7 separate regions of the Homo sapiens genome follow, and all the other regions are linked to region 5. Evidence: promoter capture Hi-C in 16 types of primary human blood cells and fetal thymus (Javierre and others, 2016). All regions are on one chromosome and are shown on one strand. The core of a region is centred on a gene start or on the middle of the fragment in contact, and the rest is flanking DNA. Distances in the headings are between cores, read along the strand shown. Region 1 overlaps PBK (PDZ binding kinase). Region 2 holds the start of CCDC25 (coiled-coil domain containing 25). Region 3 holds the start of GPAT4 (glycerol-3-phosphate acyltransferase 4). Region 4 overlaps DPYSL2 (dihydropyrimidinase like 2). Region 5 holds the start of MAK16 (MAK16 homolog). Region 6 has its middle 14 kb from the start of GINS4. Region 7 overlaps TRIM35 (tripartite motif containing 35).

Evidence for each region. Contacts are between HindIII fragments. The CHiCAGO score rates a contact against its expected background, and 5 or more counts as called.
Region 1: a fragment that was not itself captured here is called in contact with the fragment with the promoter of MAK16 in region 5 in 1 of 17 cell types (monocytes); the score reaches 5.4 in monocytes.
Region 2: a contact is called between the fragment with the promoter of CCDC25 here and the fragment with the promoter of MAK16 in region 5, in 7 of 17 cell types (naive CD4 T cells, total CD4 T cells, activated CD4 T cells and 4 more). The highest score is 19.9, in naive CD4 T cells.
Region 3: the fragment with the promoter of GPAT4 here is called in contact with the fragment with the promoter of MAK16 in region 5 in 1 of 17 cell types (fetal thymus); the score reaches 7.9 in fetal thymus.
Region 4: a fragment that was not itself captured here is called in contact with the fragment with the promoter of MAK16 in region 5 in 2 of 17 cell types (M0 macrophages and activated CD4 T cells); the score reaches 7.4 in M0 macrophages.
Region 6: a fragment that was not itself captured here is called in contact with the fragment with the promoter of MAK16 in region 5 in 1 of 17 cell types (total CD8 T cells); the score reaches 6.5 in total CD8 T cells.
Region 7: a contact is called between a fragment that was not itself captured here and the fragment with the promoter of MAK16 in region 5, in 1 of 17 cell types (M0 macrophages). The highest score is 7.1, in M0 macrophages.

The regions. Positions count from the first base shown.
Region 1 is chr8:27,827,329-27,830,092 of GRCh38, forward strand. It overlaps PBK (PDZ binding kinase), which reads right to left. Exons shown (of 8, transcript NM_018492.4): 3 at 777-870. Among named protein-coding and RNA genes, the nearest start is that of PBK, 9.1 kb to the right of the region's middle. RefSeq lists a silencer at 610-810. The HindIII fragment of the contact is 1,242 bases long and covers 816-2,057 here.
Region 2 is chr8:27,771,219-27,773,961 of GRCh38, forward strand. It overlaps CCDC25 (coiled-coil domain containing 25), which reads right to left and starts at 1,422. Exons shown (of 9, transcript NM_018246.3): 1 at 1,295-1,422. The coding sequence starts at 1,322. It also overlaps a transcript of ESCO2 not described here and the pseudogene RNU6-1276P. RefSeq lists an enhancer at 1,106-1,415. The HindIII fragment of the contact is 7,740 bases long and covers 1-2,743 here.
Region 3 is chr8:41,576,926-41,579,625 of GRCh38, forward strand. It overlaps GPAT4 (glycerol-3-phosphate acyltransferase 4), which reads left to right and starts at 1,275. Exons shown (of 13, transcript NM_178819.4): 1 at 1,275-1,353. GPAT4-AS1 (GPAT4 and GINS4 antisense RNA 1) reads right to left here and starts at 1,443. Exons shown (of 3, transcript NR_125824.1): 1 at 1,381-1,443. RefSeq lists silencers at 1,002-1,621, 1,642-1,781. The HindIII fragment of the contact is 4,489 bases long and covers 554-2,700 here.
Region 4 is chr8:26,580,699-26,583,409 of GRCh38, forward strand. DPYSL2 (dihydropyrimidinase like 2) reads left to right here. Exons shown (of 14, transcript NM_001197293.3): 2 at 1,271-1,359. Among named protein-coding and RNA genes, the nearest start is that of DPYSL2, 68 kb to the left of the region's middle. The HindIII fragment of the contact is 3,760 bases long and covers 1-2,711 here.
Region 5 is chr8:33,483,817-33,486,516 of GRCh38, forward strand. It overlaps MAK16 (MAK16 homolog), which reads left to right and starts at 1,366. Exons shown (of 10, transcript NM_032509.4): 1 at 1,366-1,405. The coding sequence starts at 1,391. RefSeq lists enhancers at 522-1,158, 1,146-1,295 and silencers at 786-975, 1,186-1,373. The HindIII fragment of the contact is 3,746 bases long and covers 1-2,700 here.
Region 6 is chr8:41,514,126-41,516,945 of GRCh38, forward strand. No RefSeq gene overlaps it. Among named protein-coding and RNA genes, the nearest start is that of GINS4, 14 kb to the right of the region's middle. The HindIII fragment of the contact is 2,559 bases long and covers 175-2,733 here.
Region 7 is chr8:27,301,042-27,303,741 of GRCh38, forward strand. All of the region lies in intron 1 of TRIM35 (tripartite motif containing 35), which reads right to left. Among named protein-coding and RNA genes, the nearest start is that of TRIM35, 8.9 kb to the right of the region's middle. The HindIII fragment of the contact is 1,199 bases long and covers 781-1,979 here.

The sequences.
Region 1 (2,764 bases), core at 187-2,686, 5.7 Mb before region 5:
CTTGAGGCCAGAGTTCGAGACCAGCCTGGCCAACATGGCAAAACCCTGTCTCTACTAAAAATACAAAAATTAGCTGGGTGTGATGGTACACGCCTGTAATCCCAGCTATTCAGGAGGCTGAGGCAGGAGAAGCGCTTGAACCTGGGAGGTCGTGCCACTGCACTCCAGCCTGGTCAACAGAGTGAGACTCTGTTTCAAAAAAATATATGAATAATAAAAAAGTAATTTAAAAAAACACTTTGTTGACAGCTATATTGGCACCATACTTGTTCGATTATTTCATTTTTCTTAACACAATATTCCTACTTTAAAATCATGTATTTACCCTTCTTAATAACAATGCCATAAGAAATGAAAATCTTTTACTTCTTTTAGAAGAGCATATCTTAGGAGGGCAACGCTGCAGAAAAGACAGCAGTCACTGACATCACCCAATACTGGCTTCCTCTTTGAGGTTTTCTCATGAAGAATCTGGTTTAATTACCACAAAGGAACCCTTTCCCCTGCCACTTCCCCTTCTTATGGAAGCCAAGGAAAAATTAAAAAGTAAATGACTTCCCCTTTAATAACCCATCAGGAGGAAGCTAGGAGAAAAGCAGAGGCAGAGCTACAGGCAAAGTTACAAAAGGGTCTAGGGACCGGAATACAGCCATCAGCCAGGATCAGGAGCAGACAACCGAATCTAAATACTGGAATTTTCAGACTACTTCTTTGTCTCCAAGTACAGTAGAATTATAGTTGCATGAAAAAAGGTTAATCTGAAATCTTATACTTACCTTTTCATTAGGTACACATTTACCCCAGTACCAAAGCCAAGCTTCTGCATAAACGGAGAGGCCGGGATATTTATAGTTGGAGTTGAACATAATACTAAATGTCAGAGAAATAAAAAATAAAATTAATAAAAAATAAAAATAAAGCATCTTAACATTCTCAATATACTACTGCCAAGAGTATTAATTGGCACAGTCTTTTTGGAGAGCAATTTGACAACATATATCCTAATTTTAAATGGGTATCTTTTGACCAAGCCTACTTTTGGAGTTTTATCCTACAGTAACTCTGAAGCAGAGATTGGGAAATGGCCTGTTTTTGTATGGCCTACAAGCTAAGAACTGTTTTCACATTTTTAAAACATTGTTAAAAGATAAAGGGGTTGGATGTGGTGGCTCATGCCTATAATCTCAACGCTTTTGGAGTCCGGGGCAGGAGGGTCACTTGAGCCCAGTAGAGACCAGCTTGGGCAACATAAAGAGACTCCATCTCTACACACGAAAAAATTTTTTTAATTAGCCAGGAATGATGGCACACACCTGTGGTCTCAGCTACTTGGGAGAAACACTTGAGCCCAGGAGGTTAAGGGTGCAGGTGCAGTGAGCTGTGTTCAGCCTGGGTGACAGAGCAAGACACAGTCTCAAAAAAAAAAAAAAAAAAAAAAAAAGATGAAAAGATGGAGTTCTGCTTCTGCTCATGAAAAATAATTAACTACTCCTGGACAATTAACTGCTCCTAGAGTTACCATCTCGCCATTAACTAGAAAACTAGACAAAATATAATTGTTTTCAGACACTTGACAACAGGCAGAGCAGTGTTGTGATGCCTGAGAGAAGAGAAACAAATGAGGTGGGCCCTATCACTGCCCTAACTTACTGCTTGAAGGCAGTTTCCAGACTGCAGGACAGAGGTCACATAATCCAGAAGTCCTGTCACATTGAAGAGACAGAGATCAGAGGTCAAGAAGGACTAGGCGGCTAGAATTTGTGGAGCAGAGAACTAGAGAGCTCCAAAGAGAGCACTCCAAAGATCTGAACAGTTTCTCTTTGAGTGTTTGGCCAAGTACTTATCCGCACATAACAATGTGTAGATGCCCCAAAGCTGGGAAAGCACCAGAGGAAAGCAATTGGCTCAACAATTACCAGAGATCATACAAGTCTAGGAACACTTCATATCACCATGAGCTAGAGGATGGTAACCCTGTAACACATAGTAAAGTCCTCTAAAGGGTCACAACTAGATAGTACAGCTAAAGTTTAGCCCCAGATAAACATTCAAAACAAAGCTTAAAAGCCAGTCTCAAAAGGAACAGGCTAATGTGCAGGTAACTTAACCTCAGACCATAACTAAATCAAACACTCTTTAAAGGAATAACAAAATCCAGTACTAGACAATGCAAAATATCTACTGCCCAATCAAAAAGTACCAGGCATGAAAGCAGCAAGAAAATATGACCAATATAGGAGAAAAATAAATCAATAGAGGCCTAGCGCGGTGGCTCACGCCTGTAATCCCAGCACTTTGGGAGGCCGAGGCAGGCAGATCACTAGGTCAGGAGTTCGAGACCAGCCTGGCCAACATGGTGAAACCCCGTCTCTACTAAAGAGGCAAAAAATTAGCCAGGTGTGGTGGCACGTGCCTGTAATCCCAGCTACTCGGGAGGCTGAGGCAGGAGAATGGCGTGAACCCAGGAGGCGGAGGTTACAGTGAGCTGAGATAGCGCCATTGCACTCCAGCCTGGGCGACAGGGCACAAGACTCCATCTCAAAAAATTAAAAAATCAATCAATCAATAGAAACATACCATAAGATGACAGGAGGCCAAGAGTGGTGGCTCACGCCTGTAATCCCAGCACTTTGGGAGGCTGAGGCAGGTGGATCACTTGAGGCCAGGAGTTCAAGACCAGCCTGGCCAACATGGCGAAACCCTGTCTCTACTAAAAATACAAAAATTAGCTGGGCGTGGTAGCACGTGCCTGTAATCCCGACTA
Region 2 (2,743 bases), core at 172-2,671, 5.7 Mb before region 5:
TGTACAAGTTTGTACCCTAGGAGCAACGGTATACTGTACAGCCTACATTTGTGGTAGGCTATACCACAGGTTTAAGTATACTCTACCGTGTTGCTACAACAATGAAACCGCCTAATGGAGCATTTCTCAGAATGTATTCTTGTCATTAAGGGACGCATGGCTACTGGTATTCCCTATATATGTATACCTATGATAAAGTTAATGTATCAGTTCGGTGGAGTAAGAGATTATTGACAATAACTAATAATAAAATAGAACGATTATAACAACGTACTGTAATAAAAGTTAGGTGACTCTGCTCTCTCTCTCTCTCAAAACCTTATTGTACTGTACTCACTCCTTTTCTTCTTGTGATGATGTGACCACGGAAAGCGAAATACAGGACAAGTAGGGACTACTGTAAAGAGATCCTGTCCACGCCCTCAAGGGACTTACACTCTAGCTCAAGCAGACACCATTTAATACCACGTGATAAGTGCAATGCCAAAGGCATACTTGGAACGTTAAGTGGGTCCCAGGAAAGGAATAGCTAAGCAATCTTGGGGTAGGAGCTAGCATCAGGAAAGGCATCTTGGAAAAGATGGGCCAAAACTGTCTTAAGGGAATTAGCTGGGGGTTGATTTTAGGAAAGGGGAATAACAGGAACAGAACGAAACCAAGTCGGGACACTGCATTTCCTGGGAACGAAGGGCACCCTTTCCTTATCTGTCAAAGATAAGTCAGAAGCATTACCATAGGTCACTTCTGAGATCTGGGACATCAACTGCCCGGAGAGTGGCTGGGTGGACATCCCAGGGTCTTTTTATTGTTTTCTGTTGCATCCCAGACCCTACAACCCCTTCCTGAAAGGGTAAGTCGCGCTTCCCTTAAGAAAAAGTTGTTAGCAGGTGTCTCCTTTCTCACAGGGGATAATTACAAGGGTTCAGCCAGAACAAAGGCCGCAGATGGAAGGTGGGAAGAAGACTTGGGATAAGGTGTGTGGAGGAGCCCACAGGCTCTGCCCAATCCCAGGGAGTGACGGGACGTCTTTCCGATTAGGGGACGAGAACTCCCCGATACAAACATAGCAGTGGCATCGCCCCTCCGCGCCCCCCACGCCATGACGAGGGGACGCCGGGGGAAATCCTGCAGCCGTGGGAGGGACGGATGTGCTGGGGGACCGAGAGGCCGCGGGAAGAGGCACTCGCATCCAGAAGGCATTTTAGAGCGAGGGTCAGGCGCAGCGGCGGACTGCGGGTCCCGGCTTCGGAGCCCGCTGTCCAGCAGGGTCCAGGAGGACGTGGCGCCCACTCACCGCTGCTGCTGGTGAAGTAGAACACCATGATCCCGGGAGCGGTGCGGTGACTCCACCGCGGAGCAGCAGCGCTCAACTCACGAAGCTCAGGATACCAGACTCGCGGCGGCCGCCTGGCCCCCGGAACTCCTCCGTGCACTTCCGGCGGACGTCGGGGCGCGTCATAACGCCGGCCGTGGGCGCCATTTTTAATCCTGGCGAGGCGAAGTGTAGTGGCAAGGAGTTTGGTTCAGTGATTTGTGGGTTAAGGGAAAGAGGCTGGGCATCTTGGGCACGTTAGTTAACCTGTCTGTGCTTCACTTTCCTCAGCAGCGAAATGAAGATGATACTAGAGCAGCTAACTCACAGGATATTTTTTAGGGTTAAATAAGTTAATGGGCGCCAAGGGTTTAGAACATAGCACACAAACGAGTTGTTTCTGATACTCACCAGGACAATATGCCTCTTGGGGATTGGACTTTGTTCTGGCTTAAATCGAAGGCCTGCCATCCCAAACCTCTGAACCTCAGAGGTCCTCCTGCTATAAAGTAGGAATAATCATATTCATGTAAAGCTCCTACAGCACTTGGCTTTGCCCTGATTATTTCTCTTGAGAAAGCACTTTTATCTGAGGAATGTGAGTCCCTTTAAATTACTAGGTCTGGAGAGGCATTAAGATAAGACCCCATCATGTTCTACCACCCCCTTGAGCTATGTATTCATCTACTGAAACTACCTGCTTCTGCCACAGGTAGCTACCTACTAACCTAACACTGCCACACAAGACACTATGACATGACCCACACCCTATAGTTTAACAATGTCTAGCCAATCACTGATGCTTGTAGTTTCTATACATCAATGAGAATGCTTGACAGTTGTGTATCAGCCCACTTCCTGCCCCCCTTCTTCGTCTTTAAAAACCTGCTTGTAGCAAAGGCCAGACAGAGCTCATATCCAAGCCTGCTGGTGGAGGGCGGTGGGGGGAGGGGGGTTGGAATCTTCTGGGCAGCTGTCCCCGCTTTAACTCAAGCAAACTCTACATTCTTTTTTTTTTTGCCTCAGCCTTTTCCTTTTAAACTGACACTCTTACATCACTGTCACTGACTTCATTCTATGAAATTGAGGGCGTCACTTAACGAAATTTATTTACATGCTTGCTTTGACAGCATGTATACTAAAATTGGAATGATACAGAGAACTTTAACATGGCCCCTGCTCAAGGATGACATACAAATTTGTGAAAATTAAATTTGAAAAAATAAACATAAAACTCTAAACTTATTTGAAACTAAAAATGTGCCAGAAACACTGTACCAGGAGCTGGTGACACAAAGATAGTAACAATAGCTAACAATAACCGTTTTAGGAACTTTCTGGTTTTCCAAAGTAAGAATTTAGCTCTGTTCTGTAAATAGCAATTGTTTTGGGTTCTCCGTTGTATTATTTGTAAAATGGGAATGGCAATAG
Region 3 (2,700 bases), core at 25-2,524, 8.1 Mb after region 5:
TCAGCCTCCCGAGTAGCTGGGATTACAGGTGCGTGCCATCACCCCCGGCTAAATTTTGTATTTTTAGTAGAGACGGGGTTTCACCATGTTGGCCAGGCTGGTCTCAAACTCCTGGCCTTAAGTGATCTGTCCGCCTCTGCCTCCCAAAGTGCTGGGATTACAGGCGTGAGCTACCCGCGCCCCGCTCCCCCCACCATTTTTTTTTAATTTTCAAAATTTTTGTAGAAGTGGGGGTCTCGTTACGTTGCCCCGGCTAGTCTCAAACTCCTGGCCTCAAGCGATCCTCCTGCTTTGGCCTCCCAAAACGCTGGGATTACTGGCGTGAACTACCATACTCTGCCCTTTATTCTTACAGAGATTTTGAGGTCTAAGAATGTGGACTTTAAAGATTTCATTATCAGATTATGCATTTAGCACGGAATGACAATCTGACAGCCGTGTACAGCGTAAACCGGCGGAGAGGGCTTGGCACTAAAGGCAAACTGTCTTTTAAGAACAGGAAAAAGAAAGGTAATATATATTTTAAGGAGGTCCCATTTTAGGGGAGATAATAAGCTTGGGTTAGGCGTCCGAAGTCAGAAGATATAGTAAGAAACACACACGCAAACTCCAGCAGCCACCAGCTAGACTTGAGTAGAGAGAGCAGGTCCAAGTGGAGGTGGAAGTTGGAAAGTTGCATCTGCCAGGCAGGGCGAAAGTGGCCTACACCCACTCCTGGAGCACCCTGCTTGACGAGCAAGGTAGACGAGGCTGAGGGATACTGCTGGTGATGACGGTGGTCGTGGTGATGGTGCTGGTAGCTAACAGATCTTGAGCGTACCAGGCCCTGAGCTGAGTCCTCTAACGGGCAGAATGTCGCTGCATACGGACAGCAGCCTCAAGAGGACAAGGTGATTTAGTGACTCTAGCCTCTTCCCGCGGTGCCAGCCTGATTTCACCCTCTCCGGAACACACAAGCGAACCTCCGGGGAGGGAGCCAGTATCGGGTCCTAACGCAGGGAAGCGCTCCGCTTTCTGAGAGGGACGCGCCAGCGGAGGGACAGCCAGGGCCCGGCCTCTCCTGCTCCTGCCCCGCCCCGCCCCCGGCAGTGCCCCCTAGTCCGCCAGAGGGCGACTCCGCGGGTCGCCCAACCCGCGACCGGTCCACGCGGCACCCGCCTCTCCCTAGGCCCCCGCCCTGCCGGCCCGCGCGCGCCCGACGGGAGCGTGCGGGGCGGTGGGCGCAGGGTCACGTTGGGCGGCGCAGACAAAGGCGGGCGCGCGCACGTCCTGACGCAGCTTGGGCCCGCGGCGGCGGCAAGGGCGGGAGGGAGCGGTCGCCGCGGGATTTGGAGCTGCCTAGCCTCGCGGTCGGTGAGTAGGAGGGAGCTGGCCCCTTACCTCAAAGTCTCCGACCTCCGGGGAGCCGAGAGCGGGACGTGGGAGCCGGGCTTGGGCGGCCGCGCGGGGCCTGCGGTCTGGGACGCCCCGGCGACGCTGCGCCGGCGTCAGGAGGCACCATCGCCGCGCCCCGGGGATCCCCGGCGGGTGGAGCGGGTGCCCCCCGTCCGGGATGGAACGGTCCGCGCCCGCCCCGAACCCCGGCCGCCCGCCTCTCCGCTCGCCTGCTCTCCGAGCCCGGCTCCTCGGAGCCCCTCGCCTCCCCCAAGTCCCAGGTGTGCGCAGCCCTCCCGCCCCGGGAGTCCGGGGATGTGGGTGGCGAGGGCTGCTGGGCGTTGGAGCACCAGGAAGCGCCTTCCCCTGTCATTCCCCTTCCTGTGTTCTCTGGCTGCCGTAAGATGCATGTCTTTACCCTCTCCTTCTCCAAATGCATGCTCCCATTTTTCTTTAGGATTTCTTAACTCCTGAAATCCCTTGCCTTTCCTTTTTTATTTCAGCACCCTCTGAGGCATCCTTCTCCCAGTGGGGCTTGTTTATTTCCTCGCTTTCCATGTCACAGAGGGCTGAAGTTTAGCTGTTCAGAAGTTGCAGAAAATAGCTTATAGGAGACATACGGTGTAGCACGATGGAAATAAGTTCCATCCTCTGCCAAGTATTACCATGGATCTTCTCATGGATAACCTTGAGGTCATTTGAGGAATTTTGTTTTTGGTTCATTTTCCTTAATTTTGGCTGAACTTTGAGGAGCTCTCCTTAGTTTCATGTCTTGTAGATTCTATCTCAATCCAAGGGAAATGGTGTGAAGAGCAGTTATACCATACCAAAGTCTCCAGACAAAATCCTGTAATAATGCCAATCAAATATACTTCTCTCTTTGAAAGAGATGTGCTTTTCTTTTCTTTTTTAACTTTGTATTTTGGAGAATTTCAGACACAGGGAAATAGATGGAATAGGGAACCAGCATGTACTTGTTCTGGCCTCCTCAGCCACTTAACTGTGGCTATTCCTGTGCCATACACACCCCACCCATTTCCCCTCCCGTATGTCTCAGGGAGAACTTGATGCAAGATGAGTCTGTCAAAAGTAGCTTCAGTTCCATAATGAAAACCACCATACCAAGTCATAAGGTGCTTTTTGTTTTGGAACACAGCCTACTCATGAGGTCTTCAGCTAAGAAACACAGTAGAGTTGAAGAAAGAGCACAGCAAAAGGTATCTTAACATGATAGAACAGGTTAAAAGAAAAAGTATGGCCGGGCGTGGTGACTCACGCCGGTAATCCCAGCACTTTGGGAGGCCGAGGCGGGCGGATCACCTAAAG
Region 4 (2,711 bases), core at 162-2,661, 6.9 Mb before region 5:
GCACTTGCTGAGAATATTGTTTTGTAACTGAATTTTGAGTTAACTATTGCCAAAAGAATGTCATTCTTTGAAATGTGTTGCATATTAAAAGGGCAATGTATGGTTCAGCTTGCCAGGTTTAAGCCCATTCTGTATAATACAGGTGCATATTTACTGAACACTCGATGCCAGCATTCCTTCCATCAGCAGCATTTGCAATAACGATGAGTCATAATGTAGCATTTCTGTCACATTCTCAGACTTTATCTGCTGCTTGTCCTTTATTTTTTAGCATAAATATCACCGGTTAAAATATAAGTGCATCAGCAATCTGTAGTGCATTGCATCTTAGAATTTGCTATCTCAGATACTTATTCGTGGGAGTTTACCTTTTTCTTAACAGCCTAGTTAAAATGGCATCAATGGCGTATTTTTTGTAGTCTTTTTGCTATACTTGCTGTGATTTACCTCAAAGATAAATGCAAATATAAAGGACATATTGAATGGAAACCTTGCTATGGTTGAACCCAGTGTATTTGTGTGGTATATCCCGTGACAGCAGACTTTTTGGTCAATTGTGCTTGCTTGACACAGTCTTTCCAAGACATGGCTTTCCTATATGTAGGTGGTTTTTTTTGTTGTTGTTTGTTTGTTTTTAAATTGAGGTTTAGCCAAAAGCCATTTTAAAAAGTACTATCTTCTTTTTTTTTTTTTGAGTTGGAGTCTTGCTGTGTAACCCAGGCTGGGGTGCAGTGACGTGATCTCGGTTCACTACAACCTCCGCCTGCTGCTTCAAGCAATTCTCCTGCCTCAGCCTCCCGAGTAGCTGGGATTACAGGCGCCCACCACCATGCCCAGCCCATTTTTTGTATTTTTTATAGAGATGGGGTTTCACCATGTTGGCCAGGCTGGTCTCAAACTCCTGACCTCAGGTGATCCGCCCATCTTGGCCTCCCAAAGTGCTGGGATTACAGGCATGAGCCACCGTGCCCGGCCCTATCTTCTTTATATGAAATAATTTTCACTGCTTTTTTTTTTTCTTTGGAGTCCAAGGTCTAATTGAAAGAGATGGTTCGTTTATCTAGGATAAGCTGTCCCTGTGTGTTCTGACTCATCAGGTGATGAATAGGTTGCCACATACAGGCTTACCTTTGTCACTGAACCTTTCCAAAATGGGCTTATTTTGAACATCACTTTTGAACAGTGAAAATGTATCCTTAGCTCACATATCTTAGCACCTGTTTCTCATAGGTCAGTTACGCGTTGTGACCTTACTGCCTCTTTGTTTCAGAGCGATCGTCTTCTGATCAAAGGAGGTAAAATTGTTAATGATGACCAGTCGTTCTATGCAGACATATACATGGAAGATGGGTTGATCAAGTAAGTGTAACTCATGATATACAGATGTATTTGAACACTTTCCAGACTTCCCAAGTATTAGATACCATTCGCATCCAAAGTATCAAACTTCAGGAACATCAGAGAGTGACCAACTTAGTATCTGTTTTAAACTGGTTTTGATTGGTGGTAATTAGTGAATTTGAAAACTCAAATTTAGGGAATTCAAAGCAACAATTAATGTACACCCGTTGCATTAGGTATTATGTAATTTACTATTTTTAACTGAGGTGATATGATATCTTTCTGTTGCCAGCTCAAATACTTGGTTTGTGATATGTTGAATATATTAAAGTTTTGCCTAGAATGTCATTGTTTGGGTTGGATTGCCCAAAGGACGCAAACGTGAAAGACAGTCTCCTCTATTGAGACAGCACATCTGCTTTCTTCATCAAGAATCCAAGTTGGAGGGGCCAAAGAAAGATACCAAGTTAATTACTAAGTAATACAGACAAATTACTGCCTAAATCCTGAGGGAATTTTAGGTTTTATTCTAAGTGGCAACTAGTGCAAATAAGACTGCCCTTGTGTTTATTGTGTTAATGTTACAAAGGAGAAGCAACAGGGCAGTTCCTGAGTTTGGGTATTTTTGGACGCCAGAGGGTTAAGGAAGCTGAGTTCATCCCAGTATCTGCCTGCCCTTTCTACTGGGGTAGCTCCCGGGGCTCTGGAGAAATAGCACATCTGTTTGAAGACAAACACTGCAGCCAGTGACAGCTTTTAAATAAGCAGCATTCATCAAGGGATAGCTGTAAACCGGTCCAGAGGAGTGGAAAACTGGAGTGGCTGTGACTGTTGCCTGGGAGCTCACACCCAGATTTATGAACCTAAAATAGATTTTAACATTTCCACGTTTAATGTTTTCTCCATGTGTGTTTGCTGTGACAGTCTCAGCTCCAGGCTCTCAAATGCCATGACTTTGATGTTCCATTTTCCCCCAATTATAAGATGGCACGATCTGGTCTGGTAGAATGACACTGGCCCAGAAGTGTGCAGGCCTGTGTGCTGTTTTTACTCATCACTGATTTGTTCTAGAACTTTATCAACTTCTCCTAGATTAATATTCCTTTTAAAAAATTGGTAGAAAGATATAAAAATATTTTTTAAAAGTTGGAAATGAATCATGTCTCCCAACATAATGAATATTCATTTTTCTGCCTTTTAAAATTATATTTCAGCTGTTAGCTTTTTCATTATCTGAATAACTAAACACACGCTTCCAAAATTTTAAATCATTGCAATCATAGTGTTCACTTTTTTTTTTTTTTTGCTTTGATTTGTTCTACCTCACCCTTCCACCCCTATTTTCCTTCTGGTGAAAAGGATATGATAAA
Region 5 (2,700 bases), core at 116-2,615:
CGCCAGTGGGAGTGTAGCAGTGAGGACGACCAGAGGTCAAACTCATTGCCATCTTGGTTTTGTGGGTCTTGACTGGCTTCTTTACTGCAATCTGTTTTATCAGCAACATCCTTATGACCTGTATTTTGTGCTGACCTCATCCTGTGATTTAGATGGCCTGACCCTCGGGAATGCAGCCTAGCAGATCTCAGCCTTATTTTACCCAGCCACTATTCAAGATGGGGTTGCTCTGGTTCAAATGCCTCTTGACAGTCTTTCTTTCCTTTTCTTTTTTCTTTTTCTTTTTTTTTTTTTGAGAGGTAGTTTTGGTTGTCACCCAGGCTGGAGGGCCACAGCATGATCTCGGCTCACTGCAACCTCCGCCTCCCGGGTTCAAGCGATTCTCCTGCCTCAGCCTCCCAAGTAGCTGGGATTACAGGCACCTGCTACCACGCCCGACTAATTTTTGTATTTTTAGTAGAGACGGGATTTCACTATGTTGGCCAGGCTGGTCTGGAACTCGCCCGCCTAGGCCGCCCAAAGTGCTGAGGTACAGGCGAGAGCCACCGCGCCCGGCCCGGCCGACAGTCTTTCTTCTATAATACGATACAAACTAGTAAAGATTTTCTTTTTCCCCTGGCGGAAAAGAGCTGTTAGGCTTCCAGATTTGTTTTTGTGGGTTATTAGACCTCTACTTTTCTTCTTGGTATTTTCCCTCCCTTATCAACTTTGTTTGTTGTCTCAAATAGGCAATGAGGAAGACACAGGTGTTTATTATTATTGGAATGCTCTTTCCATTTGGTCAGTGGTTTCTCAAAGCAGGAGGAATTCAAGTTCTGAGTTTCTAAAGTCAGGACCCGGTGCCGCACCCAACGTGGGCGTGGGGAGTGGCTAAGTCAGGGTCTGAGGGGCAGGGCCGGGGCCTGGCTGCGAGCTGGGGCCGGGGGACTCGGAGGAGCGGGGACCCAGCCCCGCCGCGCCGCCTGCAGCTTTCCCCAGCCTCCTCCCAGCAGAGGGGAGGCCCGACAGGGAGGGGTCCCATCCTCATGAACGGTCACAAACAGGGCGCTAGGGAAGCACGCCCGACCCCCGCGGTCCCCGCGCTCCAGGATTCGGCAGACTGCGCGCGTCCTGCCTCCCGCGGATCGCACTGGGTCCCAACAGGGTTCCCAGCTCCAGGCTGCGCCCATGAACAAGCCCAGCATTGCGGACGGGCGCGCGCAGACGCCAGCGTGGTGAAGACGCGGGGGCGCGCGCGCGGCGACGAGACTGCCAGGGGACGCTTCGCAACACCGAGAGTCTCAGCGTTTCTCGAGATAGGTGAGGCTGCGCGTTCCGGAACTGGTTTCCCGGAAGGAGCATGTCTGCGCCCGCGATCCGACCGGAAGTTGCACGCTGAGCCGCGGACACCATGCAGTCGGATGATGTGAGTCTCCTCCGGTTGTTCTTACACCCGGGGTTTGCGCAGGGAATTTTGCCCATTTTCGGACACTTAGAAAACGCGTACGCAGCGGGTCTGTTGCCTCGTGCCGCTCTGGATGTGAGGCTTCCGGAACCCCGATTTTCCAACATAGGTTCTCACGCGTGTCTAGCAGGGGTTTACTGCCCGCTGCCCCGGCCGGGTTGTGAGCACAGGACTCCGTCACCTCAGCCCATGGGGTCGATGTGTCCCGTCCTTCGTGCCTACCAATGCAGGACGTCGCGTCATGCTGTCAGCTGTCAGCTGTCAGCTCCGGACTTGGGGTGGGGGGCGGCCCGGGATTTGGCGAAGCTGACTCCAAGTTTAAGCGTCCTTCTCATCCATGTGCGCGTTACTCTTCCATCTGCGTTTCCTGTGTAGGCTTTTCTTTACATTTGCTCTACTTCTGCCTAAGTCATAATTTCGGAAGTATCCTAGATTCATTCATTGAGTTTTTTGTTGGAGAAATAACAGTGTGCTTACAGTGTGCCAGGCATTGTGGTAATTATTGAGGATTTGGTTAACCAGAAAAAATGTCCCACCTCTCCTGGAACACTGATGGGGGAGACACAGTAAACAAGTGAACAAATAAGTTAACAATTACACTATATAATCATACTATGAAAGAAAGACCAGAGATGATGAAGGACACTTCAGATAGGGTTACTCAGGGAAGGTTTCTCTGAACAGAAGATGTTTGAGTTGAGATCTAAAAGATAAGAATAAGCCAGTCACTGAGGAGCTGAGGAAAAAGCAATCCAGGCAGTAGGAACAGTAAAGTACAAAGAGTTGAAGATATGAGAGAATGAATATAAGGGTCATCAAAGTGACAATGTAAGACAGGTAATGAAATTAGATATGCTTGCCAGGGCGAGGTCATGCAGAATCTTGTAGGAAGTGTTTTTTAGGCCTTTTAATGATCTATGTTTGTGAAAAGTTGTCTAGTTGCTGTGTGAAGGACTTTTGGAGGGAAAAAATGAAAGCAAGGAGACTAGGGTATGACAAAGGTTGCTTCAAGCCAGACACAGTGGCTCATGCCTGTAATCCCAACGCTTTGGGAGGCTGGGGCTGGAGGATCGCTTGAGGCCAGGAGTTCGATTCCAGCCTAGGCAATAAAGTGAGACTCCATCTCTACAAAAAATAAAAAATTAGCTGGGCGCGGTGGTGTTCGCCTGAGGTCCCAGTTACTTCGAAGGCTGAGGCAGAAGGACTACTTGAGCCGAAAAGTCCGAGGCTGCAGTGAGCTATGATGGCACCACTGC
Region 6 (2,820 bases), core at 204-2,703, 8.0 Mb after region 5:
GGAAAGGAATTGCATCGAAACCTCTGAGTTGGGTAAAGTAAATAATAAATAAGCCTCCTGCTCATACTTTGTCCTGTATTATTCTCTATGTAACATTAAATCCAGCTATGATTGAAACTGCAAAACTTAGAAGTCTATTTCTCCTTAATTCTTTTAACTTAGTCTTCTGATAAAAGCTTATTTTCAGATAATTTCCACTTTTCAAAATTCTCTAAGGACCTAATAAAGCACAAACAATACTTTGTACTCATTTGAGTTCTTGCTACTGAATTTCTCTATGTAAAATCAAAGTTACAAGAACAATATGAAAAAAGGTGCTTGTCACTCATTAGATAAAATGAATCAAGCACGCTTGTAGTCTAACATCACCAGAGACTACTCTGTAGTGCAAACACTAACTGAAACAGGCCAGAGTCATCCCTGTCCTCATGTGTGCTTGCTGGAAGGATAAACATCGATGACTGTAACCATTACACAGTGACCAGCTTTAATGTGCAAGGGTGTCAGTGTGAATGATTTTATTCTACCCCACCCCCAAGAGCTGGAATAAATGGCTTTATGATGGTACTCTCCAGTACTGTACTCAAAACTTGGAAATGTGTAGAGAACGGCAAACATCTGATTAACATCCCATTTGCTGTGGATTGTTGGGAATGTCAAAATGGGGATTGTGGACCACCTACGTGCTAGGATTGTTAGGGGTACAGCAATACATGTATTTTGCTCCAAAATGAGTAGGCACAGAATTACAGAACCAAAATAAAGATCTTGGCTCTTCTGAATTATATCCTAAGTTCTTCCCATATATGTACCTCAAATGCTGCAGATACGAAGTTCTGTGAAATTCTGCCTACAACCAGGAAGCCCTATGGGAACTTAACGCCTACTCTTTACATTTTTAAGCCTCCATTTTGCAAAAAAAAAAAAAAAAAAAAAAAAAGTTTTTATGAGTTAGGCACTACCAAAGATCTTTGGTTAAGGGTTATTGTCAAGTGAAAACAAGTTTATGCTAGCAGGATGTTGTGGGTTTTTAAAAAAATAGTATCTGAGCAATAAAAGGATTTATTGACTTAGTAACTTATCTAACTTTGTGCTGTCACATTTTACTTTGCTAGTGAAATCTTTAATCTTCAGATTTATAAACTATCTTTGAAGAAATATTTCGTTTCACCTACAAAGAGTTCTTTAAAAAAAAAAAGCAGGAGACCTAAAAATCCACCTATTAGCTGCCATATCTGTTGTTCTTGATCTTTCTGTTTCTGTTCATGTATATATCCTCTTACCTCATGTTTTAACAGACCTGTTTATTGCCAGGAAATGATAATAACTTGTATTCAAAATGTTTTGTTAATTACTCTTCACGGAGCAGCCGAGTGTCAAACAACATAGCTAGCTCAGATTCTGGGATGTGCAAGGGCTGAGAAACATAGATGTGATCTTTTCCTCCCAACAAAAGGATTCATGTGCACAACTTGCACATCTTTGTTTATCTCATAAAATCTACAAATGTTTTACTTAGTCCAGTTTCTACTTTCTTAGATATTTGAAGAATTATGCGCTTGAAAATCAACATCTGTGATTCTCGTTTCTAATTTTAAAATGAAGAGTGCTTCAGTTAACAATTAGGGGCCAGGCCAGGTACGGTGGCTCACACCTGTAATCCCAACACTTTGCGAGGCCGAAGTGGGTGGATCATTTGAGGTCAGTAGTTCGAGGCCAGCCTGGCCAACATAGTGAAACCCCATCTCTACTGAAAATACAAAAATTAGCTGGGTGTGTTGGCAAGCACCTGTAATCCCAGCTACCCGGGAGGCTGAGGCAGGAGAATCACTTGAACCCGGGAGGCGGAGGCTGCAGTGAGCCAAGATCACGCCACTGCACTCCAGCCTAGGCAACAGAGCAAGACTCCATCTCAAAACAAAAACAAAAACAAAAAAAAAGTAGGGGCTGGGCTCACACCTATCATCCCAGCACTTTGAGGGGCCAAGGTGGGCAGATTACTTGAGCCCAGAAGTTGAGACCAGCCTGGGCAACAGCAAAACCTTGTCTCTACAAAAAAACACAAAAATTAGTTGGGCATGGTGGCCCACGCCTGTGGTCCCAGCTACTTGCAGGGCTGAGGTGGGAGGATCACTTAAGCCTGAGAGGTCGAGGCTGCAGTGAGCTGAGATCATGCCACTGCACTCCAGCCTGGGTGACAGAATGAGATCCTGTCTCAAAAACAACAACAACAACAACACACACACACACAATTAGGAAAGGCCAAACAGCATGTTTTGGGGGATTTTTAATATTGCAGAAAAGATCTTCCCTTAATATTTAATGACATGGAGGGACTATTTCAGGATAGGAAAAATCACCTTTTAAGTAACCAGAAACCCCACAGCAGCCATCTTGAATACAGAAACTTCACCAGCCCCTGCCAGCAAGAGCTATAAATGTAAAATTATCAGATCCCTGATAGGGGCTCCCTGAGGAAATTTGCTTGTGACAAGTTGTTTTCTATTCCCTAGGAATAGAAAGGGAATAGTTGTTTTCTATTCCCAAGTACTGTGTAGATTTTGAAGTGACCACAAGTTTTCCATAAAGGAAATGTGTGCTGCCAGAGTAATACACAGCTGTATATTAACTCCATGCAGCAGTTAAGACAGCAAGTAAAAATGCCTCTGAGACCAAAGCCAGCATTTAGGCTCAGAGGGTAAAATTCAATCTGATCATTTCGTTTAACAGATAAGCTTGGCCGGGCACGGTGGCTCATGCCTGTAATCCCAGCACTTTGGGAGGCCGAGGCGGGTGGATCACAAGGTCAGGAGTTTGAGA
Region 7 (2,700 bases), core at 130-2,629, 6.2 Mb before region 5:
TCAATCACTTGGAGAGTTCTGGTTTCCTTCAGAAAAGACCAATCCTAAAATGGCCCTTCTCTGAGATGTCAGCTGATGAGACTAACCAACAATTATATTACTATTGCTAGCAAGCAGTTACTATTAAGCATGTACTAGACACAAGGCACTAAATTATGCACTTTACAAACATTCTATTTAATTCAATTATTTAATTCGAATTCTCCCTATAAGGTTAAGCACTGTGAGTCCCATTATACAGAGGATCAAGTTAGACCCAGAGGAGGTAACCTTCTTGTACATGTCTCCTGGGGACACATGGGAACTCGTTTCTTCATAATATATTCCTGGGGATAAAACTGCTGGGCCACCATATGTGTCTTCACTTTACTGCGTAATGCCAAATTGTTTTCCAAAGCAGTGGTACCAATTTTTACAGCAAGAGCAATGTTAATAGAAAATGTTTATTGACCACTTCAATGTTTATTTTTAAGTACTCAGTAAAGTATTGTCCATTTTTCCATTGCGTTGCCTGCCATTTTCCTAACTGGTTTGTGGGAATTTATTATATATACACAATGTATGTCCTTGATTAGTTAGAGGTGTAATGAATATTTTCTACTTCATCATTTATCTTTCTTAATTGAAATATGGCCAAATTTATTAGTCTTTTCCTTTAGGATTAGTATACTAGTTTTAAGAAACACCTCCCTACACTGAGATCACAAAAACAATCGTATTATTTCCTCAAAGCTTTATAGCTTTGCATTATTATTGTATAGCTCTGTAGTATTTTCTCAAAGCTTTATAGCTTTCCTTTCACATTTAGGTCTGATGTGGATACCTGGAGTTTATTTTTGCACATGGTGTGACCAGGTAGCTCATTGTCTCAGCACCATTATTTAAAAAGACCATTACTGCCCACTGGTCTGCAGAGCCACCTCTGTCTTAAATCAGACACAGATCTGTTTTTTGGTTCTCTCCATCTGTTTCTCTGGCCCATCTGTTTATCCTTGTGCCAACATCACACAGCCATAATTTCTATAGCTGTAAAAAAGAGAGGATTTCTGATAGGTTTCTCTTCAAGAATGTCTTGGCAATTTTTGGCCCTTTGAGGGTCATATAAATTTTAGAATCTGTGAAGTTGCATAAAAATAATCATGTTGAGATTTAGATTAGTACAATATTGTCTCTATAGATCAATTTGGGGAAAACTGAAAGGCTTAAATACTGACTTTACTAATCCACGAACATAATATATCACACCAGTTACTTAATGTTCTTTGATAGCTCTCAACGAAGTATATTTTTCCCTATCAGAGTTTTGCGTATCTTTTATTAATTTCTTCCTAGTTATCTTATTTTTTATATTATTGTAAACATATTTTTAAATTAAAAAAACCCAAAACAGGGTCCCCCTCTGTCACCCAGGCTGCAGTGCAGTAGTAGCACAATCATAGCTCACTGCAGCCTCCTGTGCTCAAGTGATCCTCCCACCACCTCAGCCTCCCAAGTAGCTGGGACTACAAGCATGCACCACCACACCTGGCTAATTTGTTTTAACTTTTTGTAGAGACAGGCTGGACTATGTTGTGCAAGCTGGTCTGAAACTCCTTGGCTCAAACGATCCTCCTGCCTCAGCCTCCCAAAGTGCTGGGATTACAGGTGTAAAACTCCCTGCCTATATTTTATTTTCTATTTGCTAGTGATACATAGAAATACAACTGGTTTTGCATCTTGATTTTGGATTCAGCATTCACCTAAACTTATTAATACTTATGATTTAACTGTAGAATCTTTATTTTCTACACATAGAAATCTCAGTGCAAAAATATGCAACCATATTATCTACACATGCCAGTTTTGCTTCCCTTCTTTCCAAACCTTACATCTTTTATTTATAATTATTGGCTTACTTCATTGACAAGGCTATCCCACACAAAACTGAATAGAGTTGGTCATAATGCGCATTCCTGTCTTTTTCTTGATCTCAATAAGAAAGCTTTCAATGTTTTGCCATTAAATGTGATATTTGCTGTAAGTTTTTTTGCTAGATATACTTAATCAAACTAATGAAATTCCTTCCATTTCTAGTTTCCTGTTTTTTTAAACACAAAAAGATGGTAAATTTTATCAAATGTTTTCTCACTGAGATAATTATATTAAGCAACACAGAATTAGGTTTCGTTTTCTTATCCAGTCAGATCAACATTTTCATTTAACTGGAGTATTTAACACATAATTACCGATATGTTTGCATTTAAATCTGCCACCTTGTTCTGAGCTATTTGTCTTGCTTATTCTATTTTTCTTTTTCTTCCTTTCCTTTTTTAAAATTTACTACACATTTTTTATTCCATTTTCCCCTTCTGTGCATCTAGTGGTTCACCTAGGAAATATGACATGTAAGAAGTGTGAATTTGAATGCATCTAAACAATATTATTTTGTTTGCTTTTGGTATTAATTTTAACCCTAAATATGCTTAGATTACAAATAGAACTACCACTCAAGGGGCCTGCCTGTAGCCCAAGGAGCACATGAATGAGCAGAGATGGGCAGTAGCAGGGGCCCACAACAGATCTGGAGCATCCCCCAGCCCAAGCTCAGGAGAGCAAACAAGCTTCGATGTTAGCATCACATTATAACATTAAGATTTTTTATTTATTTATTTTATATTTTTTACTTTTTTGAGATAGAGTCTCATTCTTCTTGTCCAGGCT